Linked DNA regions of Homo sapiens: region 2 is linked to region 1. Evidence: promoter capture Hi-C in human tissues and cell types (Jung and others, 2019). All regions are on one chromosome and are shown on one strand. The core of a region is centred on a gene start or on the middle of the fragment in contact, and the rest is flanking DNA. Distances in the headings are between cores, read along the strand shown. Region 1 holds the start of A2ML1 (alpha-2-macroglobulin like 1). Region 2 overlaps RIMKLB (ribosomal modification protein rimK like family member B).

Region 1 (6,982 bases), core at 3,242-5,741:
ACCTCAGCCTCCCAAAGTGCTGGGATTACAAGCATGAGCCACTGAGCCCAGCTGAGAAAGATATCAATATTAATTACAAGATTATAGAACACCAAGCAGATTTAGCCCAAATGAGTCTACCTCAAGACATTTAATAATCAAACTCCCAAACATCAAGGAATAAAAAACAAAAAAGAATCCTAAAAGTGCAAGAAGACAGACGTGGTGGCTTACGCGTGTAACCCCAGCACTTTGGGAGGCTGAGTGGGGAGGATAACTTGAGGTCAGGAGTTGGAGACCAGCCTGGCCAACATGGCGAAACTCCATCTCTACCAAAAATACAAAAATTAGCCAGGGGTGGTGGCGCTCACCTGTAAACCCAGCTACTCGGGAGGCTGAGGCAGGAGAATCACTTGAACCCAGGAGGCAGAGGCTGCAATGAGCAACCATTTATTGCATTCCAGCCTGCGCGGCAGAATGAGACTCCATCTCAAAAAACAAAAAAACAAAAACAAAAATTAGCTGGGCATGGTGGCGCATGCCTGTACTCCCAGCTACTTGGGATGCTGAAGCACAAGAATCACTTGAACCCAGGAGGCAGAGGTTGCAGTAAGCAGTGATCCCGCCACTGCACTCCACAGCCTGGGCAACAGAGGGAGACTCTGTCTCAAAAACAAAAAAAATTCAGTAACATTTCTATATGCCAACAGGGAACAATCTGAAAAAGAAATTAAGAAAGATAATTCCATTTACAATAGCTATAAATAATATAAAATACCTAGGAATAAACTTTACCAAAGAAGTGAAAGATCTCAACAATAAAAACTATAAAATACTGATGAAAGAAATTGAAGAGGACACACAAAAACATGAAAAGAGATTTCATGTTTCTGGATTGGAAGAATTGATATTGTTAAAATTCCGTACTACCTAAGGCAATCTACAGGTTCATTGCAATCCCTATCAGAATACTAATGACATTCTTCACAGAAATTCTACATCCTAAATCTTAGGACTTTTGTAAAAAAAATCATAAAATTTTTATGGAACCATAAAAGACCTAAAATAACCAAATCTATTCTGAACAAAAAGAACAAAGCTGGAAGAATCACATTACATGACTTCAAATTATACTGCAAAGCTATAGTAACCAAAACAGCATGGTACTGTCATAAAAACAAATACATAGACCAATGGAACAGAATAGAGAACCCAGAAACATGTCTAGGGTGAACTCATTTTTGACAAAGGTGACAAGTGTATACACTGGAGAAAGCACAGGCTCTTCAATAAATGGTTCTGGGAAAATTGGATATCCATATGCAGAAGAATGAAACTAGACCCTCATCTCTCTCCATATAGAAAAATCAAGTCAAAATGGATGAAAGATTTAAATCTAATACCTCAATCTATGAAACTATTATATATAAGAAAACTTTGGGGAAACTCTCCAGAACATTGGTCTGGGCAAAGATTTCTTGAGTAATACCCAAGGAGCACAAGAAACCAAAGCAAAAATGGACAAACAGGATCACATCAAGTTAAAAAGCTTCTGCACAGCAAAGGAAACAATCAACAAAGAGACAACCCACAGAATGAAAGAAAATATTTGCAAACTACCCATCTGACAAGGGATTAATAACCAGAATATATAAGGAGCTCAGACAGCTGTATAGGAAAACATCTAGTAATCAGATTAAAGAACGGGCAAAAAGATCTGAATAGACATTTCTCAAAAGAAGACATACAAATGGCAAACAGGTATATAAAAAAGGTGCTCAAATCATTGACTGTCAGAGAAATGTAAATCAAAACTACAATGAGATATTATCTCACCCCAGTTAAAATGGCTTTTTTCCAAAAGACAAACAATAATAAATGCTGGTGAGGATGTGGAGAAAAGAGAACCCTCATACACTGTTGGTGGGAATGTAAATTAGTACAACCACTATGGAGAACAGTTTGGAGGTTTCTGAAAAAAACTAAAAATAGAGCTTCCATATAATCCTGCAAGCCCACTGCTAAGTATATATACAAAAGAAAGGAAATCAGTATATCAAAGACTATCTGTGCTGCCATGTTTATGGCATCAGTATTCACAATAGCCAAGATATGGAAGCAACCTAAGTGTCTATGAACAGATGATAAAAAATGGATTAAAAAATGTGGTACACATACATAATGGAGTACTATTCAGCCATAAAAAAGAATGAGACCCCATCCTTTGCAACAGCCTGAATGGAACAGGAGGTCATTATGTTAAGTAAAATAAACCAGACACAGAAAGACAAACTTTCCATGTTCTCATTTATTTGTGGGAGCTAAAAATTAAAACAATTGAAGTCGTGGAGATAGAGAATAGAATAATAATTTTTAAGTGTGTGGAAAAAAATAAGGTAAAAGGAAAAAAATTTTTTTGAAAGAGAGAGAGAGAACAGAATGATGGTTACCAGATGCTGGGAAGGGTAATGGTGGGCAGGATGAGGGGTGGGGTGGGAATGGTTAATGGGTACAAAAATATATTTAGCTAGAATGAATAAGATCTAGGGATCTTGTAGTTTTTAGCACAAAGAGTGACTACAGTCAACAATAATTTATTGCACATTTAAAAATTACTAAGAGAGTATAATTGGATTGTTTGTAATACAAGGAAATGATAAATGCTTGAGGTGATGGATACACATGTACCCTGATGTAATGATTACACATTGTGTGTGTGTATAAAAATATCTCATCTACCCCATAAATATATATACACCAGCTATGTACCCACAAAAATTTTAAATAAAAAAATAAAAAAAACCCAAACATAGTTTCTTTTCAGGGTGCCTGACTTTGAAATCTCAGAATGAAGTGCCCCTGTAAGGACGAATGAACAAATACAAAAAAAAAAAAAAAAAAAAAAAAAAACCCCAGTAGCTCAAGCCAAATGCCCTCAGTGCTTTCTTAGCCATTTACAAGCAGTTTGTTGTAAGGCCCAGCAACCCAGTTATACTTGCCAAATTCTATTCCAGAAGAAATGTGTACTTTTGTTTTAGATACACAAACTCAGTAGCAACCCCCACCTACTTCTCTTGCTTGTGTAGCGCAGCATGTATTCAACACTTGCACTACTTAATCCCCCCAGATTTTCCTCTCCTCTGCACTCCTTTTTTTCCAAAGCCTACTGTCAAACCACAAATCCCCTCTTTACCCCTGTGCACAGCGGTTTCCCCAGGTTTTAGTCGAACCCCAAATATGTGACTCTTACCTTGCTGCCCTGGGGTGTAGAGAGGTTTGTCAGTCTGTACAAAGGTGCCGTTCCCCTGCCTCTGAATTAGAACCTTTTTCTTCTCCTCAAAGCTGATGTTATTTCCAACTCCCGACACCCGGATTGTGGCCACTTCTTCTGTGCCACCAGCAGGAGGTGGTACCTGACCAAGAAAGGGGACTTCTGGGGAGGGGTAAGGGATTGGGGGAACAGAATCAACTGGTCTCAACCCAACAGTGAGTTAAAGGAAAGAGCTGAGTTAGATGGGGGTAGCAAGGATAGAGACATAAAACAAATTACCACGAGGAAGAATTAAGGTCAGGAACTAAAGGGAGAAATCCTAGGTCGAGGAAACCGTGGGTGAGTTATAGCCGGGGATTGAGGTTAAGTTGAGAAAAAATAGGTTTAGAGGCCGTGGCAAAAGATAACAGAAATTATACTTAAAGTAGATTATAGTGAGCCTAGGGAGGAGAATAGGCAAGTAAGGGATTCGAGTGAGGGCTGAGTCTGTGCTTACAAGAAAGGAGATACAATGTAAGTGCCTCTTCTTCAGTCCAGAGTATTCTAGCAACTTCTGGGTCTTGTCCTTGGTCTCCAGAGTAACCGTGAATTTAACATCACTGTACCCAGGGCTCAGGTCCAAACAAACCTTCTGAACGGAGGGGAAATTTAGCCGGGCTGGTAATGTCACCAGGTAGTTTCTATTAAAGGAGCAGAAGGATTTCAGGGCAATAATGATTCATTCACTCGAAAAATCCAGCACTCTCCTAAGCGCTCAGCAAGTAGCAGTGAATTAGACAGACCAAGCCCCTGCCTTCCTTATGCACCTCATTTTCTACAAGAAGCAGAGGGGCAACGACTCAGTGCACAGTCTTCAACTTCCGCCATCAGGAGGCCCTCACCGAGCACACATGCCTAGAGCACCAAGGAGGAAATTAGGCCTATTTCAGAAAACAGGGCACATTTTAATATTTATCTTTTTTAAAGCTTCCTCTTCATGCGTCAGCCTCCCTCTCTGGGTAAAGGATCAGTGGAACCAAAGAAGAGAAAAAAGGAGGAGGAAATTAAGATAAACCAAAGTTGATCTCCCCATCTCCATATAAATGTTTGAGAAAGTTAGGCGAAGAAGCCGCTGCCCTAATAAACCAATTCTGACACCAAGCACTCACGGAAGTTCTTCTGCAATGGCTGGTGATAGGGCCAACATTCCTAGAAGGAGCTGAGCCCACATCTTTGTGGGTGAGACAGATTTTTCCAGGGTCAGGGGCAGAGATCGCTCCGCGTAGCTTTATATACTAATTCCAGGTAGGGTGTGCAGTGATGACTGATGCTATAGTCAGTCACCTCCTGGCACCTGGAACACAGGAGGACTGTGTTCCTCCTTCTGTAACCACCAGGTTAGGTGGTGGACCAGGGTAGGGCCACTATTCACTTCTTTAAAGTTGTTTCTGCCTGGAACATCCATACTGGTTCAGCCAGTTTTGGGGGAAAACCAGAGCTGAGTATTCATAATGGTAAAGCTCTCAGAACATATTTTGAACTCCTCCCTTTTTTTCTGGTCTCATTCCAATTCCTGTTCTCATTTAATGTCCTTATTTTCTTTTATTATTCAATTAAGGTGTAGTTGGGAACACGGGTATGAGAACAGTTTCAATAGAAAAGCAGTAAACTTGGCCGGTCACAGTGGCTCACGCCTGTAATCCCAGCACTTTGGGGGGTTGAGGTGGGCAGATCACCAGGTCAGGAGTTCAAGACCAGCCTGGCCAACATAGTGAAACCCTGTCTCTACTAAAAATACAAAGAAAAAAAAATCAGCTGGGCATAGTGGTGGGTGCCTATAGTCCCAGCTACTTGGGAGGCTGAGGCAGGAGAATCGCTTGAACCCGGGAGGTGGAGGTTGCAGTGAGCCGAGATCATGCCACTTTACTCCAGCGTGGGTGACACAACGAGACTCTGTCTCAAAAAAAAAAAAAATTAATACTACTCAGTATTGTTGTGACTGTATGGAAATAGGGACACACACAGTCCTAGAGAAAATAGAATGTGGATAACTTTCTCATGGCAATTTTGTAATACACACCAAAGCCTTTGAGATTTGCATATTCTTTCACTCAGCAACTCCTACTCTGGAAATGTTTCTTAATGAGGAAAAAAAGGACAGCATGCATGTATGCACAAGTGTAACACTGAGTTTTTTCACACTGTTCTTTCTTTTTTTTCTTTTCTTTATTTTTTATTTTTTTGAAGTAGAGTCTCACTTTATCACCCAGGCTGGAGTGCAGTGGCACAATCTCAGCCCACTGCAGCTTTGACCTCCTGGGCTCAAGCGATCCTCCCACCTCCACCTCCTGAGTAGCTGGGACCACAGGTAGGCACCAACACTCCTGGCTAATTGTTTTGTATTTTTAATAGAGACAGGGTTTCACCATGTTGCCCAGGCTAGTCTCGAACTCCTGAGCTCCAGGGACCACCTCAGCCTCCCAAAGTGCTGGGATTACAGGTATGAGCCACCGTGCCCAGCCCACAGTGTTCTTTATGATGGTAATACTTAGAAGTCACCTAAAATATAAATTAGTCTAAGTGCAGTGGCTCATGCCTATAATCCCAGCTTTTGGGAGTCAGAAGCTGGAGGATTGCTTGAGCCCAAGAGTTTGAGACCAGCCTGGGCAACATAGTGAGACCCCGTTTTGTAACCACCCAATGGATTCACCTTGCTTGCTGCCTAGACAGAGCCGATTTATCAAGACAGGGGAACTGCAATGGCAAAAGAGTAATTCACGCAGAGCCGGCTGTGTGGGAGACTGGAGTTTTATTATTACTTAAATCCTTGAGCCTTCGTGGATCAGAGTTTTTAAAGATAATTTGGCAGGTAGGGGCTTGGGAAGTGGGGAGTGCTGATTGCTCAGGTTGGAGATGGAATCATAGAGGGTCGAAGTTAGATTTTCTTAATGTCTTCTGTTCCTGGGTGAGATGGCAGAACTGGTTGGGCCAGATGACTGGTCTGTGTGGTGTCAGCTGATCCCATGGAGTGCAGGGCCTGCAAAATAACTCAATTACTGATCTTAGGTTTTACAGCAGTGATGTTATCCCCAGGAGCAATTTGGGGAGGTTCAGACTCTTGGAGCCAGAGGCTGCATGACCTCTAAACTGTAATTTCTTTTTTTTTTTTTTTGAGACAGAGTCTGGCTCTACCGCCCAGGCTGAAGTGCAATGGCGCGATCTCGGCTCACTGCAAGCTCCGCCTCCCGGGTTCACGCCATTCTCCTGCCTCAGCCTCCCGAGTAGCTGGGACTACAGGCGCCCGCCACCACGCCCGGCTAATTTTTTGTATTTTTAGTAGAGACGGGGTTTCACCGTGTCAGCCAGGATGGTCTCGATCTCCTGACCTCGTGATCCGCCCGCCTTGGCCTCCCAAAGTGCTGGGATTACAGGCGCGAGCCACTGCACCCGGCCTCTAAACTGTAATTTCTAATCTTGTAGCTAATCTGTTAGTCCTACAAAGGCAGACTGGACCCCGGGCAAGAAGGGGGTCTTTTTGGGAAAGGGCTGTTATCAATTTTGTTTCAGAGTCAAACCATGAACTGAATTCCTTCCCAAAGTTACTTCGGCCTATGCCCAGGAATAAACAAGGACAGCTTAAGGGTTAGAAGCAAGATAGAGTCGGTTAGGTCTGACTTCTTGCACTGTCATAATTTCCTGTTACAATTTTGCAAAGGCAGTTTCAGTCTGTATAAAACATTTCTTTAAAATTAG
Region 2 (6,982 bases), core at 1,546-4,045, 85 kb after region 1:
CTACGCTATGAGGACGCAAAGGCATAAGAATGATATAATGGACTTTGGGGACTCAGGGAGAAGAGTGGGAGGGGGTGAGGGATAAAAGACTACACACTGGGTACAGTGTACACTGCTTGGATGATGGGTGCACCCATCTGAGAAACCACCACTAAAGAACTTACCCATGTAACCAAACACCACCTGTTCTCCAAAAACTACTGAAATAAAAAACACTGTAAAAAATAAGTCTATAATGACCATCGGGGAAAAAAGTATTCTAAAAGAGGGGACACAAAATAGAATGTGTTGTTATTCACCATGTTGGTATTATTATTTACCGTATCAAAGAATTCAGAAACTAGAAAATACAAATATGGCTGGGTGTGGTAGCTTACACTTATAATCCCAGCACTTTGGGAGGACGAGGCAGGCAGACCACTTGAGGTGAGGAGTCTGAGACCAGCCTGGCCAACATGGTGAAACCCTGCCTCTACTAAAAATATAAAAATTAGCCAAACGCAGTGGTGAGCGTCTGTAATCCCAGCTACTGGGGAGGCTAAGGCAGAACTGCTTGAACCCAAGAGGCGGAGGTTGCTGTGAGCTGAGATTATGCCACCACACCCCCAGCCTGGGTGACAGAGCGAGACCCTGTCTGGGAAAAAAAGAGAAAATATAAATACATCAGTCATCATTTCAATGTTTGTGTCCCCCAAAATGTTAAGTGTTGAAATCCTAACCCTCAATGTGATGACACAAGGAGGTAGAGCTCTCATCAATGGGATTAGTGCCTTTATAAGAAGAGACAAGAAGCCAAGTGTGGTGGCTCACACCTGTTAACTCCACTTTGGAAGGCCGAGGCAGGAGGGTCGCTTGAGCCCAAGGAGTTCAAGATCATCCTGAGCAACATGGTGTGACCTCGTCTCTACAAAAAAATTTTTAAAAATCAGTCCAGCATGATGGCATATGCCTATAGCCCCAGCTACTCAGGAGGCTGAAGCAGTAGGATAGCTTGCACCTATGAGGTTCAAGCTGAGCTGTGATTGCATCATTGCGCACCAGCGTGGGTGACAGGCCCTGTCTCAAAAAAAGAAAAGAGATGGCCCTGCATGGTGGTACACACCTGTAATCCCAGCACTTTGGGAGGCCAAGGTGGGATGATCACTTGAGTCCAGGAGTTCAACACCAGCCTGGGCAACATAGTGAGAACTCATCTCTCTAAGAAAAATAATTTTTAAAAAGAAAGGAAGAGATGAGAGCTTGTACACATGCTTTCTTGTGCACGTGCTCTCTCTCTTCTCCATGTAAGGACACAGCAAGACGGCCATCTGCAAACCAGGAAGTGGGCCCTCATCAGAAACAAATCTGCCAGTACCTTGATATCGAACTTACCAGCCTCCAGAACACTGTTCTTCAGAACAACAGAAACAATTTCTGTTGTTTAAGCTATCCAGTCTATGGTAATTTGTTATAGCAGCCCAAACTAAGATCATCAATTTAAAAAAGTCTTTTCTAGAAGCAAGACTTTCAGAATGGTGGAATGAAAAGGCATTTTTCTAGCTCACCAGCAATACTAGAATCCTAAGTGTTAACCTCAAATGTGACAAAGCTGTATGGTAGATCTCTAATTCACAGAGAAGGAACTGTCCTTGTCTGTCTTACCACACACAAACTACCAAGATCTCTTAAATGTTCTGATGGAATGGACTATTCCAACAAAACTACTAACTCAGAAACTATCCAGTTGAGAAGTAACATGCCAGTCACTTTTTGTAACATCTTCCATCTATATAAATGAAATTTCTTGGAGCTTCCCTCACCAATTAGCTTGGCTGGGGGACGGGGGGTATCACTCCTCCCACCCATTCCCCATGAACACTGTAATTCTCAATAAGAAAACTACAACTTTTCTCTCTACTCTCCTTTTCTTATTTAGACTAAATACATTTTTGCAATCGTGTTGTGTGTGTGTAATCAGACAAAAAGATTTAAAAGTCTTATGAAATAATGAATAGTCAAGAAGAAAACATCACGGATGACCATACAAATACTGTCCAGGAAAGAAGACATTTTAATGGACTTCACATAGGTCATTACTTCAGGCCTTGGTTACTGCATTTTCAAAATGAGTTCTAAGAAACAGCTCGTTATTACTACATCAACTTTTTATGAAGAATGCTATTTTAAGCTTTGCGTTCTCCAGCAGAAACACTTAGGATGTATATTCAAAAACCATTAATTGCACGGTGTGGTGGTTCATCCCTGTAATCCCAGAACTCCAGGAAGTTGAGGCAGGCAGACTGCTTGAACCTCAGGAGTTCCAAGGTAGGCTAGGCAACATAGCAAAACTCTGTCTCTACAAAAAAATACAAAACTTAGCTGGGCACAGTGGTACATGCCTGTAGTTCCAGCTACTCAAGAGGCTCGGCTTGGGATCACCTGAGGCCAGGTAGGTCGAGGCTCCCACTGTCCCTAACCCTGACAATTTAAGCAAAATGAATAGTGACAGTAATGGATTATAATTTTTTGAATGAGACCATAAATCCAGAAGATAATAGAGAAAATTCATGGGCCAGGCGCAGTGGCTCACACCTGTAATCCTAGCACTTTGGGAGGCCGAGGCAGGCGGATCACCTGAGGTCATGAGTTCGAGACCAGTCTGACCAACATGGAGAAACTCCGTCTCTACTAAAAATACAAAATTAGCCGGGCGTGGTGGCGCATGCCTGTAATCCCAGCTACTTGGAAGGCTGAGGGAAGAGAATCGCTTGAAGCTGTGAGGCAGAGCTTATGGTGAGCCAAGATCACGCCATTGCACTGCAGCCTGGGCAACAAGAGTGAAACTCATCTCCAAAATAAAAAAGAGAGAGAGAGAAAATCCTTCCTTACAGTACAATACCAACTAATAAATACAGAATGAATAATAGAGATGAGGGGGGGAAAATCCATTTTGTAACAACATCATAATTGATTGAGGCAAGATTCATCAATGGAGGCTAAAACTATTCAAAGTCTGATATAAAAATAGGATATTTACAGTCTCAATCTCCCCACATATTATTAATAAAGAAAAACACTATATCTATATAGTAAGGAAACTTGGAAGACCTTAACCAAGTAATCAAATGTTGAGAAAAATGGGTATATGCCTCCTGATCTAAAGAATTATGAAGTACAGCATTTCACTTATGTGATATTCTTACCAAAAATGCATAACCTAACTCTAATCCTTAGTATATATCAGACAAATCCAAACTGAGGGACATTCTGCAGAAAAGCTCACTTGTACTCTACAAAAATGTCAAAAAAGACACAGGCAAAAAAAAAAAAAAAGTCATGATTAAAGGAAACTAAAGACACATGACAAATACAATGTGTGATCTTGAAATCCTGGATAAAGGAGAAAAAAATGCTAAAATGATATAGCTATTTTTGAGTATGAACTATATATTAGTTAATAGTAATTAATAAGGCTGGGCACGATGGCTCACGTCTGTAATACCAGCACTTTGGGAGGCCAAGGCGGGAGGATCACCTGAGGTTAGGAGTTCAAGACCAGCCTGGCCAACATGGTGAAACCCCGTCTCTACTAAAAATACAAAAAATTAGCTGGGCGTGGTGGCACATGCCTGTAATCCCAGCTACTTGAGAGGCTGAGGCAGGAGAACTGCCTGAACGCGGGAGGCAGAAGCTGCAGTGAGCAGAGATCGTGCCATTGCATTCCAGCCTGGGCAAGAAGAGCGAAACTCCGTCTCAAAAAAGAAAGTAATTAATAGCAGTATTAAAATTCCTGAAACTGGCTGGGTGAGGTGGCTCACATCTATAATCTCAGCACTTTGGGAGGCTGAGGCAGTTGGGATTGCTTGAGCCCAGGAGTTCAAGACCAGCCTGGATAACATAATGAAATACCTCATCTCCACAAAAAACAAACAAAAATTAGTTGGGTGTCATGACACACACCTATACTCCTACCCAGGGAGGTCAACGTTGCAGTGAGCTGTGATCACACCACTGCACTCCAGCCTGGGAGACAGAGCAAGACCCGTCAAAAAAAAAAAAAAAAAAAGGAAATACATGCTTAAGAATTTGGGGCACCTTGATCTAAATAGCTCAGAAAACAAACAAACAAACTACACGGAGTGGCAAAGCAAATGTGGCCAAATATTAACAATGGGTGAAAACTGAATAAACAGTATATACGAGCTATTTGTATTATTTTTGCAACATCTCTATAAATTTCCAACTATTTCAAAATAAAAAGTTCTTAAAAGAAAGACAAAGCTAGTAGACTTTTCATTTTAACTGCTTGGAGAAAGAAATTACCCAGCCTCCCTAAATAGCACCTTATAAAAAGAAAATAATTTTCAAGCAGACACCAAACTTGTAGCTTTCTAAAATTAGGCCCATCCTTAAAACTAAAATAGAACTAACAATGGTTTTCCACTCCAAAACTGGAAAACACTACCATGTGAGGAAGAAATCTTTCAGTTGTAACAAAATTGGTTAACTTGCTGCACTGAAGAGATTAATACAGACAATAAAAAGTCTAAAATTAGGCCAGGGCAGTGGCTCACACCTGTAATCCCAGCACTTTGGGAGGCTGAGGCAGGCAGATCACCTGAGGTCGGGAGTTTGAGACCAGCCTGACTAACATGAAGAAACCCTGTCTCTATTAAAAATACAAAATTAGCGGGGCGTGGCAGTGCATGCCTGTAATCCCAGCTACTCAGGAGGCTGAGGCAGGAGAATTCCTTGAACCTGGGAGGCAGGGGTTGCAGTGAGCCGGGATCCCGCCATTGCACTCCAGCCTGAGCAATAAGAGCGAAACTACGTCTTAAAAAACAAACAGACAGACAAAAAAAAAAACGAAGAAAGTCTAAAATCAATAACCATTCCCATAAATATGTCATTAAACAAAAACAGGCAAAAGTTCAGTGAATAAAGTTTTAAAATTTTTGACCCAAAGCTAATTATGTATCTCATCTACTTAGCAATACTTCCCCTCTGTTTTAAAGCTTAATCTCTTGGTATTTACATTAAAAAAAAAAAATTTAGGCTGAGCACAGTGGCTCACGCCTATATTCCCAGAACTTTGGGAGGCTGAGGCTGGCAGATCACCTGAGGTCAGGAGTTCGACACCAGCCTGGCCAACATGGCAAAGCCCCGTCTCTACTAAAAATACAAAAATTAGCTGGGCATGGTGGTGTGCGCCTGTAGTTCCAGCTACTTTAGAAGCTGAGGCAGGAAAATCACTTGAACCCAGGAGGTAGAGGATGCAATGGGCCAAGATTGTGGCAATGCATTCCAGCCTGGGCAACAAAGCAAGGATCCATGTAAAAAAGAAAAAAAAAAATTTTAGCCTGCTTGATAAATATTGCTGCCTGATAAGTAGGCAGCAATACCCCACAGCTGACATCATTACCAAATATTCTGCAGCTCTCTGACCAAGGAAAACAAAATTTTTGATTTGACCTACAAACTTTCTGTACCCATATAAGGACAGTTTTTCTTATTGCCTATTAGATGAAATTTAAGAAATATAATCCAGAAGATGACAGAAGCGAGAAAACTACCTCAATTCTCCTCATTTTCCCCTGAAGTGAAATTTCTGATCCTTAATGTATTATTTGCTTAGCTGACATCAAGTCTCATAAAAGGACTACAAAGAACTCCAAAGGTTTTAACCAATGGCTAACTGGAACATCGAAGATAGAATTCAGTTTGCCTCTTGGCATTTATTACTTTCTCCATCTGGAAGATGCTTTTTATTTTAAATAAATAAATATATCTATTTTTATAAAATAATTTGGAATACAAGTTAACCCCTTCCTACTTCCTGTGTTGAATTAGTTAATAAAAAGAAACAACTAAAATAAACTTTGAGAAGCTACACAATACTATGGGCAAGTAAAACATGACAACATCTAAACCCAGTGGCCACCAACAAAAACAAAATCAAGGATTTTTACACCCATGAGTACCACTAAATGAACTCACATTCAGTCCAAATATAGCTTGATTCCTTAGATGTCATTAAATACTATATGATTTAATAAAATATTTTTCATCTATGAGACAAAGCTTCTTATGCATACATAATAAAGGTATTAAGGTGAGGGTAGTAGGCACTAACTTCCTGCTCATAAGAACATAAACAAACTTTCTAAGCGTCAATAGGTCACCAGAACCAATATATTTACTTTCAAAATACCTTTCAGGTAAACTAGCTCATTCTATTTCCAGCCATGTTAAAATACAAGATTACTGTCTCCCATGAACAGCTTTGAACTGCTCCCCTAGTTCAAACCCTTATATTTCTGAATTTGGCAATAATTAGGTCAAATTATCCTTTCTCCAAGTTCTCCTTCCTTCTCCCATATCTCAGATTTAGGCTCCTTTCTTTGCCTTAAGTCTACTTTGGTACCATTAGGCCTAGGTAAAATACAACTTTTCCACGAAACTTCACCATTCCTTTGCCTTACCAGATAATTCCTCTGTGTTCTCCAAGTACCTTATTTGTACTTCTATTATAACCACTATTTTATTGTCCTCTAGTAGACCTACAAGCACTTGATGGGGTGAGGACAGTGTCCTCCTCAAACACTGTACCTTTCAAAGTGTCAATATATAGTAGACACTCAGTAAGTAGTCATACAATCTACCTAAATCAATCGATCAATCTAACAATCACCTATCATCTATCCAGAGACAGGGTCTCACTGTGTCACCCAGGCTAGAGTGCAATGGTCATAGCTCACTTCAGCCTCCAATTCCTGTGCTCAATCAATCCTCCTACCTCAGCCTCTCCGAGTAGCTAGGACTACAGGTGTGCACCATCACGTCCGGCTAATTTCTTCTTTTTATTTTATTTTTTGTAGTGACAAGGTCTTGCTATGTTGCCCAGGCTGGTCTTGAACTCCTGGCCTCACATGATCTTCCTGCCTTGGCCTCCCAAAGTGCTGGGATTACAGGCGTGAGCCACCATGCCCAGCCTGAATCAATT

Evidence for each region. The method cuts DNA at HindIII sites, captures the fragments that hold promoters and counts their contacts. A contact is called where the count stands out against the background at its distance.
Region 2: a fragment that was not itself captured here is called in contact with the fragment with the promoter of A2ML1 in region 1 in 4 of the 25 tissues and cell types used here (H1 embryonic stem cells, adrenal gland, aorta and 1 more).

The regions. Positions count from the first base shown.
Region 1 is chr12:8,820,130-8,827,111 of GRCh38, reverse strand. A2ML1 (alpha-2-macroglobulin like 1) reads right to left here and starts at 4,491. Exons shown (of 36, transcript NM_144670.6): 1 at 4,399-4,491; 2 at 3,747-3,930; 3 at 3,230-3,392. The coding sequence starts at 4,460. The region is part of intron 1 of A2ML1-AS1 (A2ML1 antisense RNA 1); the gene reads left to right. The HindIII fragment of the contact is 7,738 bases long and covers 2,873-6,982 here.
Region 2 is chr12:8,733,581-8,740,562 of GRCh38, reverse strand. All of the region lies in intron 2 of RIMKLB (ribosomal modification protein rimK like family member B), which reads right to left. Among named protein-coding and RNA genes, the nearest start is that of RIMKLB, 39 kb to the right of the region's middle. The HindIII fragment of the contact is 5,464 bases long and covers 64-5,527 here.